Linked DNA regions of Homo sapiens: regions 2 and 3 are each linked to region 1. The links are contacts of gene promoters, found by promoter capture Hi-C in blood cells and fetal thymus (Javierre and others, 2016). All regions are on one chromosome and are shown on one strand. Each heading gives the region's core, a stretch centred on a gene start or on the middle of the fragment in contact. The rest is flanking DNA. Distances are from core to core; before and after follow the strand shown.

Region 1 (4,451 bases), core at 1,169-3,668:
TGTGTGGGAAATTGGAGCCATTTTTCATCAATCTACCACATCACCTGAGACCAACTTGTCAACCGTCTTTCAATATTCAATGGAATTCCTTATCTGAGAGTGTCAACTAGCCAAAACATGGCTGAGACCAAAGAAAGTAATAGATCCTCTGAGCCAGTTCTGAGATGCAAGTAATAGGTCCTCTGAGCCAGTTTTAAGATGATTGCTAGGCTCACGGCAGATTAAAAGCTTTAAAATTAGAAGCTGCATAGTGACCTAAACCAAAACCAGAGTGGTCAGGGGCTGTGTATACAGTCTAGAACACAACAGTCCAATAGGATTAGAGCCTGAAAAGGACAAATGATATTTGGTGTTTTGTTTCAAAAAGTGCATAATTCATTTTATAAAGATCCTCCCCCCACATGATTTGAATTTCATATAATAGTGTTTTTGTGTCTAGTCACAACCTGGAACAACATTCCTAAGGGACTCTACACCTGCAACCAAGGAATCATTGATTTACTAGGAGATCTAACTCTAGCTGGCTACTCTTTGCTTCTTACAAATGAGCTCTGTCTTTGACTACTTTTGCAGAAACCACGTTGGTGGATCCCAAGGAATTTCTCCTTTCCAGGAGGAGCCAAGGCAGGATAGCCTAACAGTTAGTTTCCTATACATCTCATGAAAAATAAATCTGCGCTTTGGGAGGCTGAGGCGGGTGAATCACGAGGTCAAGAGATCGAGACCATCCTGGCCAACATGGTGAAACCCTGTCTCTAATAAAAATGCAAAAATTGGCTGGGTGTGGTGGCTCACACCTGTAATCCCAGCACTTTGGGAGGCCGAGGCGGGCGGATCACGAGGTCAGGAGTTCGAAACCAGCCTGGCCAACATGGTGAAACCCCATCTCTACTAAAAATACAAAAATTAGCTGGGCGTGGTGGTGTGCACCTGTAATCCCAGCTACTGGGGAGGCTGAGGCAGGAGAATGGCTTCATTGAACCCAGGAGGCAGAGGTTGCAGTGAGCCGAGATCGTGTCACTGCGCTCCAGCCTGGGTGACAAGAAAGACTCCGTCTTAAAAAAAAAAAAAAATTAGCCGGGCGTGGCGGCGCGCGCCTACAGTCCCAGCTATTCGGGAGGCTGAGGCAGGAGAATCGCTTGAACCGGGGAGGCGGAGTTTGCAGTGAGCCGAGATCGTGCCACTGCACTCCAGTCTGGCGACAGAGCGAGACTCTGTCTCAAAATCAATCATTCAATCAATCTGCTCTCAGTGTCTCGAGGCGGGCTTTCACCAAACGTCAACCTCACATCTATTCCGCGACCGGGTCAGTAAGGAAGGGCCCAGCGGTCGTCGAACTACCACAGCTATTTCGGCCCCGCCCCGTCCCGCCCCCAGCTTTGGACCCACCCTTTCCCCCGCTTCTTGCCCTCTTGGGAGCTCTGTTCCCCTTTGGCATCGCCCGGGGACACCAATTAAATGCAGCTTCACACTGTGACTGCCCCTGGGAACCCTCATTTTATTTTATTTATTTATTTATTTTTGAGAAGGAGTCTCGCTCTGTCGCCCAGGTGGAGTGCAGTGGCTGATCTCGGCTCACTGCAACCTCCGCCTCCCGAGTTCAAGCGATTCCCCTGCCTCAGCCTCTGGAGTAGCTGAGATTACTGGCGCGCACCAACACGTCCAGCTAATTTTTGTATTTTTAGTAGAGATGCGGTTTCCCCATGTTGGTCACGTTGGTCTCGAACTCCTGACCTCGTGATCTGCCCGCCTCGGCCTCCCAAAGTGCTGTGATTACAGGTGTGAGCCACCGCGCCCGGCCGGAACCCTCATTTATTCTATTTTTTTTTGAGACGGAGTCTCGCTCTGTCGCCCAGGCTGGAGTGCAGTGGCGGGATCTCCGATCACTGCAAGCTCCGCCTCCCGGGTTCGCGCCCTTCTCCTGCCTCAGTGTCCCGAGTAGCTGGGACTACAAGCACCCGCCACCACGCCCGGCTAATTTTTTGTATTTTTAGTAGGGGCGGGGTTTCACCGTGTTAGCCAGGATGGTCTCGATCTGCTGACCTCGGGATCCGCCCGCCTTGGTCTCCCAAAGTGCTGGGATTACAGGCGTGAGCCACAGCGCCGGGCCCGGAATCCTCGTTTTAAATAAGGGCCACGCCGGAGTTTGATTTTGAACTGATCGGCCAACGCCACCTGGCAGCATACTGTACTGCTTAACTACGCTTCCAGCTTCGTCCCTCGCCAGGTCCCGCCTGGATCCTGCGCCCCGCCCCCGTCCCCACACTCTACGCGCCCCGCCCTCCGCGCTCAGCCGACTGGGGCCTTGTAAAGGAACCGGAACCCGGCGGGAGAGAGCCCCGGGGGCGGGGTGTACGTGGTGCGGCACTGCGCGTGCGCGCGAGGCCTCTTGCGTCATTTAGCCGCGCCTAGGTTTTCCGGCGCCGGCCCTAGGTCCCGGCAGCGGTGGTGACGGCGGTGCCGGAGGTTGTCCTTGGCAGGTTTTCCTCGGCGCTTCTCCATGGAGGAGGCGGTGCGAACGGCTTCAGCCCCGAATGCTCGCATCTCCCACTGGACGGCGACGAAGGCGGTGGCCGTGCGAGCGCAGGACTGGGCGGCCTGTGTGGGGGTGTGAGCCGCGGTGCCCAAGGCTGCGCCGGCGAGGGGAAGCCGCGCGGCCGGCCGGCCGACTAGGGTGAGGTCGCCACTCCTTCCTTTCAGGCAAGCGCGAAGGGGCTGACTTGGTGGCGAGCCAGCCCGCCTTGTGTCGGAGAAGGGTTCTTCGGGCAACTTTCCTTTCCGGGTGTTCTGAAGCGGTTTTCCTGTAATCCTCAGTGAGGAAACCCACCGTGAATCGGATTGCCGTTCAGTCCCACGGAAGCCTGGCTCGTTGGCCATGTCGGGGACGCATGTTCATTAAGTTCATTAAAATAATTTCATTTGTCTTGGTGAGTTTTAGAAGGTGGCTTCAGCTGCTGCGGGGATCATAACTGACAGTTAAACAAGCCTTAGAAGTCTGCTGTGACGTTTTGAGCCTGACTGTTTTAATTTCCTTTTATAAAATCACGGAATCCTATTTCCCTCTCTATACAATTGCTCAAAACTGTGTGTTTAGTTTGGTGTTTGTGCCTCCTTAATTTCTTTTCTAGGTTGTTAGTTCATTTAATACAGGACTGCATGTTAAGTTCTGTTTCTAGAAATCCTGTGTATAGCCATGTGCCCGGTTAATACTTTTTTTAGTAAGAGGAAATATCAGAGTCGAGAGTTTCCATTCCAGTAAGCTGCCTGTCGAAGCAGTAGTTGTGCTCGATTGAGTAGGTTTTATGTTGATTGGTTGGCAAAATGAGTATGAAGGCTAGTAACCAAATTATAAAACGTACTTAGTAACTTTAAGTCTTTTGCCTACTTCTGTGTTTTCTTCTTTCTAGGCTGGAGCTACTCGGCCAGGGTTTAAGACTTTAAATGAGAATAAAGGGTGGTATTTACGAGGAAATGAGAGTGAATAAGTCATCTCTAACCTCTCCCAGCCTTTTTTTCATAAGAGAGACCATATTAAACTTACATGTAAGTTAAAATTGTAATTTATAACTAATATTGTTGCATAGTTAGGGTTGGAGATTTAGGTTCTGTAATATTTATAAGTACAGTACTGCTTTGAAAAATTATTAGCCAAGTGAGAGGTTGGAAAAAATTAAATCTAACATGTATTTAATTTTTCTGAGCCAAGGTCTTGCTCTGTCCCCAGGCTAGACGGTGCAATCTGGGCTCACTGCAACTTCCGCCTCCCGGGCTCAAGTGCTCCTCCCACCTCAGCCTCCCCAGCAGCTGGGACCACAGACGTGCGGCACCATGCCTGGCTAATTTTTGTATTTTTTTTAGAACCGGGGTTTCACCATGTTACACCGGCTGGTCTCCTAATTCTGGACTTAAGCGATCCAACCACCTTGGCCTCCAAAGTGCGGGGATTACAGGTGTGAGCCACCGAGCCGGGCCTAAGCTAACTTAGATAGCAGTGGAAACCAGGTAGTAAAGATTTCGTAGAAAACTAAGAGCTCTATATATAGTTTTTTTTTTTGTTTTTTTTTTTTTGAGATGGAATCTTGCTCTGTCACTCGGGCTGGAGTGCAGTGGCACGATCTCTGCTCACTGCAACCTCCGCCTCCTGGGTTCAAGCGGTTCTCCTGCCTCAGCCTCCGGAGTAGCTGGGGTTACAGGCGCCGGCGACCACGCCCAGCTAATTTTTGTATTTTTAGTAGAGACGGGGGTTTCACCTTGTTGGCCAGGCTGGTCTCTTAACTCCTGACCTCAGGTGATCCGCCCGCCTCGACCCCCCAAAGTGCTGGGATTACAGGCGTGAGCCACCGCGCCCGACCTAAGAGCTCTAAAGTGTTAATGTAATGTGGGCAGCCGGGTGTAGAAGTAAAGTCCCTTTCTGTGTGGTCCTCTGCATGTGACTCTTTTTTACCCCTGGG
Region 2 (4,514 bases), core at 915-3,414, 2.1 Mb after region 1:
ATGTTCAGAGGCTTGCTGTTGTGCCGTTCTGCCCCGATGGTATCCTGTCCGCTCGCATTGGGGCGCGTCCCCCATCCGCCCCCAACTGTGGTGTCGCGACAGGTCCTATTGCGGGTGTCTGCGGTGGGAAGGGCGGTGGTGACTGGGAGCATGCGGGGTAACCGCAGTGGGCAAGGGACATGGGTGGAGGTGGGTACATCAGGGTGATTGCAGTTCCGTGTGGCGAGGGTACGTGGGGGGACCAGTGCATAGGGATTTTAGGCGGAGGTAGGTATATTGGAGTGATTGTGGCGGGGCGAAGGTACGTGAAGTGATCGGTATTTAGGGGGTGTTGAGCGCAGGTAGGTGTATAATAGTGACCACTGCGTGGTGGAGCAGGGTACGTGGGGCGACTGGGGGGGGAATTCGTCGCAGTGACCGAGGCGAGGAGGCTATGGCAGTGGACCAGGGGGATGAGTCGGTGTGACAGTGGTGGGGGTTGTGTTGGTGGTCGCGGCGCGGGGAGAGTCCGTAGGAAGTGGCTGGGAGGTAGGGGGAAGGCGGCGACAGTGGGTATTGGCGGCGGTGGGCATTGGCAGCGGGTAGGCATGGCGGTGGTGGACTTTGGCGGCGGTAGGCATGGCGGCGGTGGGCATGGCATGGAGGCGGTGGGCATGGCGGCCGCGGGGCCTGTCGCTGTCCGGAGTGACTAAGGGACGCTGAATGATTGCTGTGTAGAGGAGGGGGCATCAGAAGGGGCAGTAGCACAGTCCGCAGCCTTTAATTTTCCTGTGACCTGCGATGGTCATCTGGTTTGCCTACTGTGGTGGTGGTGCTTTTTTATTAAAACTGCGCAATGCCTACACTGCCGCAGGGGCTGCAGAAATGCGTGGAATCCTTGCGTACCCTTTAGGAACCCTCGCTTTAGAGGCTATGGCATAAGAAGACTGGAATGATGTGCAGAACTTGCATTTACAGATCTTTTGACTGATAGGCCAGGTGATGCCTGGGGGTTACTTTTTTTTCATTGTTTCTCTCTGTTGGGAACCAGGTCTTGGAAGGCTATGTCGAAATAACCTGGGGGTCTGTGTTGCGTCACTGCCATTGTGCAGCTCCTTCAAGATGGCCGCCGCTGCAGCGGCTTAGATCTGCGCAAGCGCTTCAGCGGGGGGGTGGCCGCTTCCTCCCTGTAGAGCCGCCAGTGGGGAGGGGGCAGGTGGTGTGTGTTCAGCTTCTGCTGTTTCGGAGTTTCAGCCGTACCCTCTTTAGGGTGCAGTGGTAAGGAGAGGAAGCCGGCCAAGGTGGGCGGCTGCCCCCTCCCCAAAGTGCTGCTTGGGAAAGGATGCAGGTTGCGCAGACGCAGCAGAGGTGACAGTCGCCTCCGCTTGCAGTGGGGCGAGACGTGGGGCAGGGGAGCGAGGGCTTACGCAGCTTTTGCCTGGAAGGAATGGCAGCCCTCCCCTTCACCTGGCTGATACAGCAGCTGTTCCTTTCCGGTTGTGGCGCAGTAGAGGGGGGAGGAGGGAGATGGGTTGGCGCAGGCTCCGCCTAGCAAGCTTGGCAGCCACCCCTTACCCACGGTGCAGCAGTAGAGGACTGGAGGGGAATGTGGCTAGAGGCCAGGCATTTGTACCACCTCCGCCTGTGTGGGATGGCAGCTGCACTGGGCTACTGCTTTTCAGCTCTGCAGTAAACTAGAGTGGTGGCGGCCTGGAGGCCATCAAAGGTGCAGCCACCCCAAGACCTGCTGTGCTGTTTCAGCAAGCCTCCATTAATGATAGAGATTTTAAATTGGTTTTCTGACTCCCTGGAAAATCGTACCTTTTCATTTTTGTAGTTCCTCTCTTGGTTGTATTGTGCGCTAATTCTCTATTTTCAAACTGGACTTGTTAACCCCTTTTTTTTAACTCCCTGTAGTCTTTGATTTCCATTCGACACATTTAATAAATGTCACCATTTAAGATTCAGTTATCCTTCTTAATCTCTGGATAGTCCATTCTGATGCACTGCATACTTTCCTTAAATGGGTTGGGGGAGAGGACATCGTGATGGCTCTTCCCGACTAAGGTTGAAAGGTGTTTCAAACACTGGACCTCTTCATCTTCTGGGAGTTGAAAGCTGCAAGTTTTGTGCTCAAAGAGAATAAAAGAGAAAAGTGGAGACAATCTTATTGGGGTGGGGTTGTGCTTTGGATCAGTTACTGTCTTTTTTTGGATTTTTAAATTAATGATCATTTTTGAAGTTGGAGCTACTACAAAAATTTGGTGAGAAAGGTTAATGAATAACTGCATTTTTATATTCCAGTACTTTTTTAAAAAATCATTTTATTCTAAGGATTTTGTCTTCCTTTGCAGGATTTTCAGTGCTTGCCTTTTCTGTATTTACATTTTCCCTCTATCATAACTGGTATGTCTGGTTGCACTGAGTTGTAATTAACAGAAAAGTTAAATCTACGAAGCCCGAAAAGCCTTGTTCTGGAATAATCTATTTTTGGGTAGTTTTAAAAATAGCAGGAGTCTGGGATTTTATATGATATTTATAATTTACCCTTTTTTTTCTGCTTGCATGAAGATAGCAGTTCACATACATATATTTCTTGGTTTAACTTCTGGTCATTTGGCTATTTGCAAGCTGAGTATTTAGTCTGATCCGCCATTTTGTAGTCTTGCATTCAGGCCCGGGATCCTAATATGGCAGATCCCTTTGGAAAGGCCTCTTGAAGTTTCAAGGTCTGTGTCCTACTCAGTGAATTGGCTCTGTGCTAGGGCTTTTTGGAGGCAGGGAGTGGCAGCCCTTCCTGTGATGCAGAGGAAGGAAGCTTGGTTGAGAGACCCTTATGTTGTTGTCTAAGGCAGGGTACTAACTGATTTGGATTTATTCACAGACCTTGCCTTATCTTGATTTCACTATTCTATCTGACCAGTGTGTCATTGCCGAAATGTTTTCCACATTTATAGTTACTCTGTATCTTTATGTTTCCCTTACCCTGTTCCTTTTCCTAATAAACATCTTTGTTTTACAAAAAATTTTGTTTATAAGGTGTCAAGGATGCCAAGATAACCTCCTTTGTTTATCAGCGCCCTCTGTTTAGCTATTTTTTAGGAAGAATCATTTAAGCAGGTTGTGAGTACTGCCCTCAATTACTTGGACAATGAAGTTTTAAAAATCTTATTTAGACCTGTCACTGGTCCTGTCTCCTTTTTTTTTTTTTTTGTGGCCCAGGGCCAGAAAGCTTGAGTGAGAATTGTTACTACTTAAGGTAGCCTCTCTCCATTTCTGGATGCTAGCTGGCTCAAAGTTTTTTTTTTTTTTTTTTTTTTTTTTTTTTTTTTAAATAGACCAGGGTCTCCCTATGTTGTCCAGGCTGAACTCGAACTGCTAGACTCAAGCTATATCCTCTCCCTCCTCAGTCTCTCTCTGGCCACTGTGGCTGGCCCAAATTCTCTTTTTGTTAATTCTCCTCAGATTTGTTTTGGAGGCAATGAGGTTTCTTATATTCATGGGGTACAGATTAGCAGCCTATCATTAACCTTATTTTTTTGTTTTTAGGAGACAGGGTCTGGCTATGTTGCCCAGGTTGGAGTGCAGTGATGCAGTTATAGCTCCCTGTAACCTCAAACTCCTGGATCAATCTAGACTCCTGCCTCAGCCTCCCAAGTGCCTGTTAGTACAGGCTTGAGGTACTGTGCCCAGCTAACTTTTTATTTTTTTGTAGAGAGGGGTCTCCTTATGTTGCCCAGACTGGTCTCGAACTCCTGGACTCAAGCAGTGCCCCTGCCTAGGCCTCCCAAAGTGCTGGCATTGCAGCCATGAGCCGCTATACCTGGCCAACTTTGTTTATTTTTATTCTTGAGATCTTAGTTAAATTTTATGGAAAATTTAGGCCGTAATAAAATTGGGATTCCATTGCTTTTTGCTTTTCAATATATTTCCGGATTATTACTTTCAGTGTAAGTGATCTGAGGGCAAACATTTAACACCCTTTCTATATGATGATTTTTTCATGATGTCCTCAGTTTCATAAAATGTTGGTTTCTGTGTTGGGGATGCAGTTAGATAAATGCATGTGTGTGTGTATCTAGAACATTCAATAAAGTAGTGTTTTCAAAATCTTATAGATGACATTTTATATGTAGATTAAAAATAAGTAGATTTAAGCCAGGTGCGGTGGCTCATGTCTATAGTCCCAGCACTTTTGGAGGCCAAGGCAGAAGGATCACTGGAGCCTGGGAGTTCAAGCTTGGGTATTGAGACCCCGTCTCTACATTTAAAAAAAGGTAAATTCAGAAAGTTGAAATAATAGAATATTTTGGTTTGATGGCTATTTCCTCAGTTGACCTCAGACCTTTCATATTGAGCAACTGCCGAATGGGTTCTTTTTGTTTTTTGGTAAGACAGTGTTTGCAGTTGTACACTATTAGATTAATCATGGTTTAGTTGATAGTTTCTTTAATTGTATTATATTAAGGTACTACATTATTAGCTGTATTTGTGTGCCCACCATAATGTAGCACTGATCAGTACTAAATTCCTTT
Region 3 (4,603 bases), core at 1,752-4,251, 2.6 Mb after region 1:
GTTGCTTCTCAGTTTTCATAACATCTGATCTCTCTGCAGCCTTCCACACTGCTGACCACTGCCTCCTGGAAACTGCTCCCTTGGTTCTGTCACCTTACATTCTCTGCTCTTCTGCCTTGTCTTAGGCCACTCTTTCTCAGGTCTCCTGTGCAGAATCCTCCCTCCCCATTCTTGGTTCTCTGCCTACCATGTTATAATCTTTGACAGTACCATTTACGTATACTCTTCTATCACTTATTTCAGTCAGGAATCAAGTCTGAATCTTGAACACAGATCTCAGTCAGAAGCATCAGACACAGTATCTTCAACCCCTTATTGGAAACCTGTACTGGGTGTTCTACAGGCACCTCAAGCTCAACATGATTAACATCAAACCCCTGAGTTTGTTCTGTCTTCCACCATGGACTGAGATGTGATAACAGTGCAAAGGAGCAGGTTTTGGGAGAACAAGCAGGAATTTAGTTTTGGTAATGTTAAATTTGAGATACCTGTTGGATATCTGTTGTACAAACTGCTTCCTAGCTGACTCTTATGCATTCTGCTCTTTATCCATGATAATAGAACATCTAGCCAGACACATGGTTGCCTATAATACACCCTTAAGTGTGGCCATATCTCTTAAGTTCTGGCCAGTAGGATGTGAGCAGAAATTATGTATGCAACTTCCAGATCATTTTCTAAAAGAAATTGGGTGTCACTTGCCCTTTCTTTTGTCCTTTTCTGATGAATGTATGTATTAAATAGTTGGGGTAGTAAACCATGTTGAAAGATGCTGTGGTTTCAATGATGGTGTCCCCTTCAAAATTCATGTTGAAACTTAATCCCCATTGTGATGATACTAACAGCTGATGAAATCATGAGGGCCCTGCCTCATGGATGGATTAATACCTTGTAAAAGGACTGGAGGGAACTAGCTTAGGCCTTCTTTTGCCCTTCCATCCCTTTAGCCACACGAGGACACAGCATTCACCCCCTCCAGAGGATATAGCAGTAAGGTCCCACCTTGGAAACTGCAGCCCTCACCAGACACTAAACCTGCTGGGGGTCTTGAGCTTGTACTTCCCAGCCTTTAGAACTGTGAAAAAGTATATTTCTGTTCTTCACAAATTTCCCAGTTTCAGGTATTTTGTTACAGCAGCATAAACAAGACTAAGACACTGGGAAACATTCTAGGGATTGCAGAGCAACAAGTTGGGGCCCTGAGGACTTCATTGGGCAGGTCCTGTGTACCAGGTCAACTCTGATGTAAGACAGCTACTAACTTCTATGATCTGCCATGGTTATTCTAAATCCCTTTAACTGCAGCTGACCTTGTGTCTTAATATCCAAGCAAAGATATCAGGAGGCAGTTGGATGTGGAAGTCTAGAGTTAGAGGAGAATGAAACCAACTCATCTTACATTCTTTGACTTGATTGGTGACTCTACCATCTATGGCGGTCCACAGTCATAATAATGGTAGCAATCCTGGATTTCTTCCTTTCCCTCACTCTCCTGGCAATTAAGAGGCAAAGTTGTATCTCTCTAAAGAATTGGCTTTAGAATTAGTGTAGCAAAGTAGCTGAGAGCACAGGCCCCCAACTTACTGGCAAGTGCACAGATACCAGGCAAGATTGTAAACCCCTTTCTGATTTAGTTTCCTCATCTATAAAATGGAGGTGTAGGGATTAAGTGTTAATGTACATAAAGTTCTTAGAATAATGCTGGGCACATAGTACAACTCAACAAAGGCAGGCTTCCCCCCGCCCCACGCAAATCCCAGTTCTGCCAGTTACCAGAAATACAACCTTGAGTACCTCAATTGGTGTCTGTTTCCTCTTTAGGAAAGTGGGAAAAAATAATAGTACCATCCTCATAGGACCATTGTAATCCTTCATTCATCTATTCAGTACATATTTATTGAATGGATATGTGCGAGCACTGTTATCAGTGCTGAGAATACAGCAATGAACAAAAACAGTCTACCTTCATGGAGTTTGTGATCCATGGAGGAAGAAAACCAACACATATGTGTTATGTCAGAATATGATATGTTAAGGAGAAATACAAAGCAAGGCAAAGGGAATAGGGAGTGCTACAGGAGTTCCGTCATGCCGAGTGGCCAGGGAAGATCTTATTGAAAAGAATTCGTTTAATCAGAGGCTTGACAGAAGTGAGGAATGAACTGTGGAAATACAAAGGAAACAACCTTCTAGACAGAGGGGGCCCTGAAGCAGAAAGGTGCCTAGAGTCATCTAGGAACAGTAGCAAGGCGTTGTGGCTAGAGAGAGAAAGGAGGAGTTGAAGATGAGCTCAGAGAAGTCACAGTGGGTCACAGCCTGGAGGACTTTTTAGCTTTTCCTAAGAACTTAGGTATTTGTGCTGAATGAGGTGGGAAGCCTCTGGAAGGGTTTGAGAGAGTTATGACAAGATCCATAGAATAACTCTAGCTACTGTGTGGAGAATGGACAAAGATAGTGCATATGAGGTGTTTAGTGCCTGACACATGGGAGGTGTTCAATAAATGGTAATAAGCAATATCATCATCATCATTATCATAACATCCATTTCCTTCTGTATATTTCCACTGCTACTACCTTAATTTAGACCCTTAGTGTTTAGACCCGTTGTGTTTCTGAACTAGACTGTAAGTTCCAGAAGGGTAAGATCATATTACCTCATTCACTATTTTAACCCCAACATTCAGAGAATGCTGGTTCATATTATACTACTTTCCTGCCAAATGTCCTCATCACAGTATGTTTTCTTAAGAAACATGTGTTATCACCTTGCTGCCTTTCTTAACTCTATCAGTGGCTCACCATGGCCTTCTGAATAATGTCTAAACTCCAAAAACGGCCCATTGGATGTGGCCTCTGCCTCCATTCCAGCCCCATCTCCCACTTCCCACATGAATGTATTGCTTAGGCAATACTTAAGCTTGAGAGTCATTTGGAGCTCTTTTGCATGCAGTTTATTCTACCTTTTAGACAAGTTCAAGCTCCTCCTCTGAGAAGCCTTTCAGATCTACTCAAGGAGGGTCATTGCTTATACCTCTGTGTGCCCTCCGCATACTCGATGTATGTGCTTAGCACTTCTGTCTTCTCTTAAGCTTCTTGAGAGAGGAGAGCACCCTTGACTTCTTGTGTTCCCAGTATCTATCTCAATGGCTAAAACCTGGTAACTCCTCAAAAAAGGTTTGAATGAGTGAATCGGGCTTTGTGAGTGTAAAAGTTAAGAACTGAGACCAGCATGTCTAATAGAGGGCCCCTTTACTGAGCTAACATGTAATAAAGTAGTGTATCTTTGAATGTTTCATTTTTCAGCTATGTCAAGTAGAGATACAAAGTGCAGTAGTGCCTGCTTATACAATTCAGTGGGAACAGAAAAATCAGGCAAATGAAATAAATGTAAGAAATCTTAACTTCTTGTCAATTCCAATAAATATGCAACAATAAAGTATTTTAATTAGAACCGTGGTATATGAAGTATAAAATTAAGATATTGAACAAGATGATCTATGAAGTCCTTCTAAAGCTATGACTTTTTCAACCACCAATTTCACGAATTGCCTCTATAGCCAAGACTACACAAGAAGTTACTGGAGCAAAAACCTGGAAGTCTATCAAATCATGCTTTGACCTTGGTCATCCCAATCTCTTTGTGCCTGTCTTAACCCAGCTGGAGAGTAGGTGGAAAAGGGAAGCATTTCATTGAACACCAGCTGCTGCTGCTGCTAATCTGAGCTGTTCTGAATAAAACAGTTCCACTTGAATCAATGAAGCAGCCCTTAGAAATTGTTTCTTTCTGACATGCGCATCATTTGAGTTATTTGAAGTCATTCCTACTACAGTCCATATCTCTAATTCCATTTTAAATACGTATCATACTGATTCTAACACAGACTCTAACAAAATGATTTTTAAATCTAAGGAAATGCATTGATTCAATTAAATCTTAGTATTAAAGATGGTACAGACATTCTACACTTATTGTTTTTCTTCAGAATCTCTCAACTGAAAAAAACATCTGACTAGGGAAGAATCATGAGTATCATTTATAATTGATACACTATTTTGTTTTAGTACTGCTTGAGGCCCACATACAGAACACAAAATTCTGTTATCAAAATGATAAATGTTACTATGTGGATTCTTTGGCATTGCTTCAAACAAAATTTTATACTTAAAGTCTGACTTTTTAAAATTATTGATTTTACTTTTATTTTGTAACATTAAATTAGCATACTACATATGGAAAGACCAAGATTTTTAAAGATAGTAATATAGTTATCATTTATGACATACAAATTTTATATTGCTTCTTTTTTTAAGTTACTGCTAAGCATAGTACTGATTGCATCCATATTTCAGTACTTACCACAAAGTTCCTGAAAGGACAGTACATTTCTGCAAATTAAATTTGTACACTCATTAGGTGCCAGTTGTTTAAATAAATCTCATTAATTCATACAACATTCTTGGATATTATATACTTTATGGATTAGAAAATTGAGCTTAGAGTAAGTAAGCAACTTGCCCATGTCTTACAGCTAAAAACTAGTAGTGCTAGGATTTAAACCCACAGGTGTATGTGTGTGCGCTCTTATTGTAGCATGTTGCTTTC

Evidence for each region. Contacts are between HindIII fragments. The CHiCAGO score rates a contact against its expected background, and 5 or more counts as called.
Region 2: a fragment that was not itself captured here is called in contact with the fragment with the promoter of NIPA2 in region 1 in 2 of 17 cell types (fetal thymus and non-activated CD4 T cells); the score reaches 10.4 in fetal thymus.
Region 3: a contact is called between a fragment that was not itself captured here and the fragment with the promoter of NIPA2 in region 1, in 4 of 17 cell types (total CD4 T cells, fetal thymus, total B cells and 1 more). The highest score is 10.0, in total CD4 T cells.

The regions. Positions count from the first base shown.
Region 1 is chr15:22,836,248-22,840,698 of GRCh38, forward strand. NIPA2 (NIPA magnesium transporter 2) reads left to right here and starts at 2,419. Exons shown (of 8, transcript NM_030922.7): 1 at 2,419-2,674; 2 at 3,408-3,543. RefSeq lists an enhancer at 2,316-2,545. The HindIII fragment of the contact is 4,457 bases long and covers 231-4,451 here.
Region 2 is chr15:24,955,210-24,959,723 of GRCh38, forward strand. The region is part of intron 1 of SNRPN (small nuclear ribonucleoprotein polypeptide N); the gene reads left to right. The region is part of intron 1 of SNURF (SNRPN upstream open reading frame); the gene reads left to right. All of the region lies in intron 4 of SNHG14 (small nucleolar RNA host gene 14), which reads left to right. Among named protein-coding and RNA genes, the nearest start is that of SNURF, 2.5 kb to the left of the region's middle. RefSeq lists enhancers at 193-758, 759-1,324, 1,149-1,308, 1,325-1,890, 1,579-1,628. The HindIII fragment of the contact is 1,262 bases long and covers 1,534-2,795 here.
Region 3 is chr15:25,442,587-25,447,189 of GRCh38, forward strand. No RefSeq gene overlaps it. Among named protein-coding and RNA genes, the nearest start is that of UBE3A, 5.9 kb to the left of the region's middle. The HindIII fragment of the contact is 172 bases long and covers 2,916-3,087 here.